2 separate regions of the Homo sapiens genome follow, and region 2 is linked to region 1. The links are contacts of gene promoters, found by promoter capture Hi-C in blood cells and fetal thymus (Javierre and others, 2016). All regions are on one chromosome and are shown on one strand. The core of a region is centred on a gene start or on the middle of the fragment in contact, and the rest is flanking DNA. Distances in the headings are between cores, read along the strand shown. Region 1 holds the start of OR56B4 (olfactory receptor family 56 subfamily B member 4). Region 2 holds the start of OR52H1 (olfactory receptor family 52 subfamily H member 1).

Evidence for each region. The method cuts DNA at HindIII sites, captures the fragments that hold promoters and counts their contacts. A CHiCAGO score of 5 or more calls a contact.
Region 2: the fragment with the promoter of OR52H1 here is called in contact with the fragment with the promoter of OR56B4 in region 1 in 4 of 17 cell types (naive CD8 T cells, neutrophils, total CD8 T cells and 1 more); the score reaches 7.7 in naive CD8 T cells.

What each region holds. Positions count from the first base shown.
Region 1 is chr11:6,105,310-6,109,133 of GRCh38, reverse strand. OR56B4 (olfactory receptor family 56 subfamily B member 4) reads right to left here and starts at 1,450. Exons shown (of 1, transcript NM_001005181.2): 1 at 299-1,450. The coding sequence starts at 1,355. The coding sequence ends at 396. All of the region lies in intron 2 of LOC124902622 (a long non-coding RNA gene), which reads left to right. The HindIII fragment of the contact is 4,106 bases long and covers 925-3,824 here.
Region 2 is chr11:5,547,147-5,550,733 of GRCh38, reverse strand. OR52H1 (olfactory receptor family 52 subfamily H member 1) reads left to right here and starts at 2,194. Exons shown (of 2, transcript NM_001005289.5): 1 at 2,194-2,282. The HindIII fragment of the contact is 4,857 bases long and covers 835-3,587 here.

The sequences.
Region 1 (3,824 bases), core at 201-2,700:
CTGCATTTAGACTATTTCTTTTGGATATTTTTCTAAAATAGAATTACTGGTTAAGAACATTTAAACATTTATAAACATTTTGATAAATTTTACCAAATTGCTTTTTGGTGTGTTTATAGTCCTACCAGTTGTGTAGGAAAGTGTTAATCTCGGGGTAGGCTAGCAGTAATAGTTAGAAACATTTCACTTTTTTGTTCTTACTTATTTTCCAGGTAATAGGAAATTTTCTTGTAATTTTAATATACATATTTTGATTAGTGAGGCTGACAGTTTTCATGATTTTATTGGCCATTTTTTTCCTAGGGAGTGTGGTAAGTGCAGATTATAACCCTGATCTATTGAGAACTAAAACCTCTGTCATTTCCTAACATCTTACTGGATTCCTAAAGCTGGAGTTACTTGGACACGTCCTGACCCAGTCCAAGCAGTCTCTGAAAGCCCAGTCTGAGTTTGTGCATCCTGAGTGCACAGGCCAGGGGGTTGAGTGCAGGGGGGATGACATTGTGCAGCACATTAAGGAACACAGGAATAAGGGGAATCTTTTTCTCTGCAAGGTGTGTGACAGACAGCACAATGATACCTGTGTGGAAGAGGATGAGGATGAGGTGGGAGCTACAAGTGCTCAGAGCCTTGGACATTGCTTCTGCTGAGTTCAGCCTCAGCACAGAGTGAAGGATTACAGCATAGGAAGAAAATACCAGAGCCATATCACTCCCAACCAAGACCCATGCTAGCATCAGTTGGTAAAATTTGTTCACAGTGATGTCATCACAAGCCAGGCTGATAACCCCCAAGTTAGAGCAGAGGCAGTGCTCGATTTCATTCCTGGAACAGTAGTGTCTCTGGGCAGCCAGTATAGGCACTGGGATGGTCAACAGGCCATTCCTGAGCATGATGAACCCTGTGGCTTTGAAGACAAAAGCTTTAGTGACTATGGAGGGGTACTGAAGAGGGCGACAGATGGCTATGTATCTGTCTACTGCCATGCAGAGAAAGATGCCTGACTCTATGCAGAAGAAGCAGTGGATGGCATAGATCTGAGCAAAACACATGGGGAGGCTAATGGCCTTGGCATCAAACCAGAAGATGGCCAGGATCTTGGGCATGATGGTGGTGGCCAGGCCAATGTCCACCACTGCTAATATGCCCAGCAAATGGTACATGGGTTCATGTAGCACGGTCTCATGTTGAATGGTGATTATGATGAGGAGATTGGCACCAAGAGCTAAGAGGTAGAGCAGAGTCAGGGGCAGGGAGAGCCAGTGCTGCCACTCATGAATGCCTGGTAATCCCATCAGGATGAACTGGGAAATCTGGAGGCTGGAGTCATAGGTAACACTGGTGGAGGTATCCATGGAATGGGTGCCTCAGTCTCAGTGTCTGTCTGAAATAGAAGAAATCTCTGTTTAAAAGTTCAGCTAAGGGGCTGAGCATCGTGGTTCATGCCTGTAATCCCAGCACTTTGGGAGGCTGAGACAGGCAGATAATTTGAGGTCAGGAGCTCGAGACTGACCTGGCTAACATGGCAAAATCTCATCTCTGCGGAGAATACAAAAATTAGCTGGGTGTGGTGGTGCCTGTCTGTAATCCCAGCTACTTGGGAGGCTGAGGCATGAGAATCATTGAACCTGGGAGGCGGAGGTTGCCGTGAGCCGAGATTGTGCCACTGCACCCCAGCCTGGACAACAGAGTGAGACCCTGTCTTAAAAAACAAAACAAAACAAAAAGTTAAGTGTCTTGGTAAGAGCTCCTCAATAATGAACCAGCTCCTTTTATTCATGAATGACCCTCAACTTTATTTGACTTCTGGAAATATTCCACAGAGGAATAACAAAAAAAGCAAAAAAATTCTAAACAGAAGAGTTGGAATAACTATTTTTCATCACCACTTGTATGTCTAATAAGCATGTCCACATATATTAACAACAGTCTTATCACTAACAGATAACAAATGTTAGTATTTGATTTATTTCCAATTTTCTATTTTATTTTTAAACAGTCTACATCATTATCTAGAGATGATTTTGTATCTTGTTTTTGTCTTTTAGCAGTATGTGTTAAGATGTAATATAAGCACTCAAAAATTTTATTTCATGGATGAATACATTAACCAAAGACTTCACAATATTATTTAAAAAGTGTGATGTTAATTTTAATTGCTGCTTTAAATTTTTGCATTTGGCTATTCTATAATTTACTGACAGGTATTTTGCTTTTAATATTGTTTTCCTTGAGTAGAGTTTCAAAAGTGATGCAAAAATTATATATACAAAGGATATAATAGTCTTAAAATTTTAAATATAATTTTGATTTTATTTTAAGATATATTATCTATACATGGTAAAAATCAAAATAAAATGAAAAATATAAACAATGAAAAGTAAGACTCTCATGCTTGGGGCTTTGAAATCTTTTTCCTTTTCACTAGAGGCAGCCAGTAATATGTTTCTTGGGAATCCTTCCATTAATAGTTTATGCATGGATAAAAACATATATATATATATATATATATATATATAATTTTCATAAAAGACATAATCAATTGTTAGCACACCTTTCTCCTTTTTTCTTTCCTTTTCTTTTTTAACTTAATATTTTGAAGACTGCTCCATATTTCCATACTGCAGTTAAGTTGCATTATTTTCTACCACCTAGATGCCCTATAGTTTAATGATTTTTTTTTGTATTTTTAGAATTGATATATCATATTTGTAGATATTTTGGAGGTACATGTGATATTTTGATACATGTATACAATGTGTAATGATCGAATCAGTGTAATTAGGATATCCATCACCTCAAGCATTTATCTTTTCTTTGTGTTAGGAACATTGCAATTCTCTTTTAGCGATTTTGAAACATACAGTAAATTATTAACTATAATTTTCCTACTGTGCTATTGAATACTAGAACTTATTTCTTCCACCTAACTGTATTTTTGTCCCCATCAGCCACCCTCTATTCTTCCCCTACCCCCACCCTTTCCGGCCTCTGGTAACCACCATTCTATTCATTACTTCTGTGAGATCCACTTTTTTTCTTTTTCCGGCTCACTGCAAACTCCACCTCCCAGGTTCAAGCGATTCTCCTGCCTCAGCCTCCCGAGTAGCTGGGATTACAGGTGTGTGCCACCACACCCGGCTAATTTTTGTATTTTTAGTAGAGATGGGGTTTCACCATGTTGGCGAGGCTGGTCTCAAACTCCTGACCTCAGGTGATCTGCCTGCCTTGGCCTCCCAAAGTGCTGGGATTACAGGCGTGAGCCACCGTGCCCAGCTGAGATCCACTTTTTAAGCTCCCAAACATGTGTAGGAACATGTAATATTTGTCTTTCTCTACTTGATTTATTTCACTTAACACAATAACCTCCAGTTCCATTCATGTTTCTGCAAATGACAGGATTTTATTCCTTTTTGTGGCTGAATAATAGGCCACTGTGTGTGTGTGTGCGTATCACATTGGATATATATATACACTCTCTATACTATATACAGTGTGTGTATATATAGTGTGTATGTATCTATATATATCTCTCTCTATATATCTCATATTTTCTTTATCCATTCATCCATTCATGAACACTTAGGTTGATTCCATATGTTCGCTATTGTGAATAGTGCTGCAATAAACATGACAGTGCAGATATCTCTTCTATTTACTGATTTCCTTTCTTTTGGATATAAACCCAGCAGTGAAGTTGCTGTACCATATGGTAGTTCTCTTTTTAGTTTTTTTGACGAACCTCCATATTGTTTTCCATAATGGCTGTACTACTTTACAATCCCACCAACAGTGTACAAACATTCCCCTTTCTCTGCACCTTT
Region 2 (3,587 bases), core at 945-3,444, 560 kb after region 1:
TCCCTTTCAAATCTGATACGTCCTCAAAACCTGTGGTTTTTTTCTAAATAACCTCTTGGATTCCCCGGCTGAGTGCAGGCACCCTCCTCCCCTACCCCAGTAGTTCAAACCCTCACTGCTTTCACTTGACTCAAAATATCAGAGTTGTTCATGGTCTCTTTACCTTGAGACTACTTTCCCATCCCCGTGCTACTACCCTTTTCACATGTCATTGAATTTTTATTTCTACAATGGCTCTCAACATATAGTTTTAATAGAAAAGAATGTCCTTTGGACTCGGAGAATTGTGTTTGAATTTATAGTCTATCTCTTAACATGTGACAATAGCTACATGCATTGTTTCCAAAATTACTTGATGTATTTTGCATACCATAAATAAAAATATAGTCAGGTCCCACTTAACAATGAGGATAGAGTCTCATAAATGTGTTGTTAGATGATTTTATTATTGTGCAAATATCATAGAGTGTACTTACACAAACCTGTGTGATACAGCCTTGGCTCTCTATTATATTCTATAGCTCCTAGGCTACAAAACTGTACATCATGTTACTATACCGAATATTGTAGGGAAGTATAATATAATGGTATTTGTGCATCTAAACATGTCTAAACATAGACAAGGTACTCTAAAATATGGTATTGTAATCTTATGGGACAATTGTTCAGAAACATTGTTATGTGGCATATTACAAAGTATAAATAGAAAAGGCAAAAAGAAAAGTAGAAAGATTTTTAAAAATTAAGACAAAAAATAGGCCGAAAATACACTTTCCACCTGCTATGAATTTTTGTTCTCTTATTATATGTGGGTCAGAAATTGAGCTGTAAGCTTTCTAACAGTCTATGTGAGAGTTAAACATGATTAGCTACATAATTCATGATGGCTATAAGTTACAGACAGTTAATTGTTAGAGAAGCAAAACTACTTCTTATATGAAGAATGGAGAAATATCTTTAGAAAGCTCTTAAAGAATAGGCAGTAAGTGATGCAATTAATCACATTCTTACAGAATACACAAGTTCATGTGACTCTTCAGTCCCTTATCCTAGTATAGAGAGGTGAAGCAACCTCAATTTTTATTCAGCGAAAGGTAAAAATTCTGTTGGGAGCCAATACAATACTAATCTCATTAGTTCTGGTTTATTCCAGATATTCTAGAACATTCAGAGTACTGAGTGGACTCCTGGCAATCTTTATTAATTAACACATTCAACAATATTTAGCAAACGTTTGACAAACATTGACAAAAACTGACTTGGCTTTCAGAATTGTTGGGTAAAAGCCTCTTAGGTAAAAATTGATATCTGGACTTGCAGAAATTCCTGACAGTACCAGCTGGTAGACCTAACAGTTTCTCCATAAGAATATATTTTATTTGCTCATATTGTTTTTACCAATAAAAATGTTTAATGAAGTTTAATGTTTTAAAAATTATAAGTGGGAGATAAGCTATAGGTATGCAAGGGCACACATAGTAGTATAATGGACATTGGAGACCCAGAAGAGGAGAAGCTAGGAGAGGGGTGAGGGATGAAACATCACCTATTGAGTACAATCTACGCAATATGGGTGACAGGTACGCTAGAAACCCAGACTTCAACCTTATACAATTCACCCATGTAATCAAAAAACACTTGTACCCCTAAAGCCACTGGAATTTTTAAAAGATAATATTAGAATTATTTCATGTGGGCCATATAATTTTCATCTTAACAGGTGCCCTAGGTTATTCCTTTACACCATAAGTTTGCCGATATGTTAAGCATTTTCACTAGCAGTATCCTATTAATTTGTCAATCCTTATAAAATCTTGAGAGACAGGTACTAATATGACCACCTTTTAATGGAAATTAAGTAACTCATCCAAAGTCCTTTATCTGGTAAGTGAGGGCATGAACTTGAAACCTGGGTGATATGATAGGCACATACACACAGCTTTCCACCCACATACACATCAGCTTACAAATAAATAAATAAATAAAGCACTCTAAGGCAGTGTTAACTCAAAGGCATGAACAAGGTTAATAGAATCTTTTTCATCTTCTTCCCTTGAGGGTGAGAAGAGGGCATGTCAGAGTCTCTAATCCCCTAACTACCTACCTTTTCCCCACAAGGAGCAGTGAGTGATCAGAGAAAATAAATGGACAGGGAATCAACCTCTCTAACGTCCTTCCTTTTCCTTCCACTCATGTTTTTTTTTGGTTGGTGTGTCTGCTGTCTTGTAGATTTTGTCAACACACTCTTTCTTCTTTCCCTTTGGCCTGATCCCCAAGATTTGGTGAGTATTGGCTGTTTGAAGGGGTTTGATTGGGACAAGACTTAGAGAAAGTGAGTGAAAAGCCAGGGCTCTATTTCTTAGGGACCATGGGCTGGGCACTATAATTTTCTTTCCTGAGCAACTCCCATTTATAAACTGAGGTCCTGATCTCCAGTACTTGTGTATATGCTCCACTGAGTTAAGCATCAAAAGATCAGAACAGATGGACAATTACACAGCTGCGTTAAGTATGACCACAGTTAGCAGTGTTAGGAAATTTCTGTTTCAGACATGTGACAAGAGTCCATAACTCTAACTTAAAATGTAGAATTAAGTGTGCTGGTATGTGTGTATGCCCAGGGGTGCTCCTGTTAATTTTTATCCATCTTGCAATTTCTGTTCTCTTTTCCACTGCATGGTCTGGTTGTTAATGATAATACTAATGATATAAAATATAACCTAATATAAAGAAGTAAAACTTGTTACATGCTTACTATGTTTCAGGTACTATATTAAAGAATATTTTTCGGCTGGGCGTGGTGGCTCACGCCTATAATCCCAGCACTTTGGGAGGCTGAGGCAGGTGGATCACAAGGTCAGGAGTTCAAGACCAGCCTGGCCAACATAGTGAAACCCGTCTCTACTAAAAATACAAAGAAATTAGCCAGGCATAGTGGCGGGCACCTGTAATCCCAGCTACTCGGGAGTCTGAGACAGGAGAATCACTTGAACCATGGAGGTGGAGGTTGCAGTGAGCCAAGATTGTGCCACTGCACTCCATCCTGGGCAACAGTGCAAGACTCTGTCTCAAAAAAAAAATTCTTTTTTCAATGTGTATCATTTTGTCCTAATAATAATTATAAAAATTAGAAATATTAATTTCTTTTAAAAACATAGGAACCCAAATATCATGTAGTTTAAATAGCTTGCCCAGATTCACATAGCTAGTAAATTGTGGAACCAGGATTAAATTGTGAAACCTAGCTTTCTGAGGCTCCAGAGTACATGCTCTGTGCCAATATTTTGCTAACATACTGTGGATGCCTGAGAGTATGTATGTGTATCTACCATAATACCATAATTATTGCTGATAAAATTAACACTAGTTCCTTTATATCACTCAATACCTAGTCCATATTTAAGTTTCCCTAACTATTCATTAATTGAATTCAATACCTGGTTTGTTTAAACAGAATTCAATCAAGAACTACACTGCAGGCCGAGCGTGGTGGCTCACGCCTGTAATCCCAGCACTTTGGGAGGCTGAGGTGGGTGGATCACCTAAGGTCAGGAGTTCGAGACCAGCCTGGCCAACATGGTGAAAGC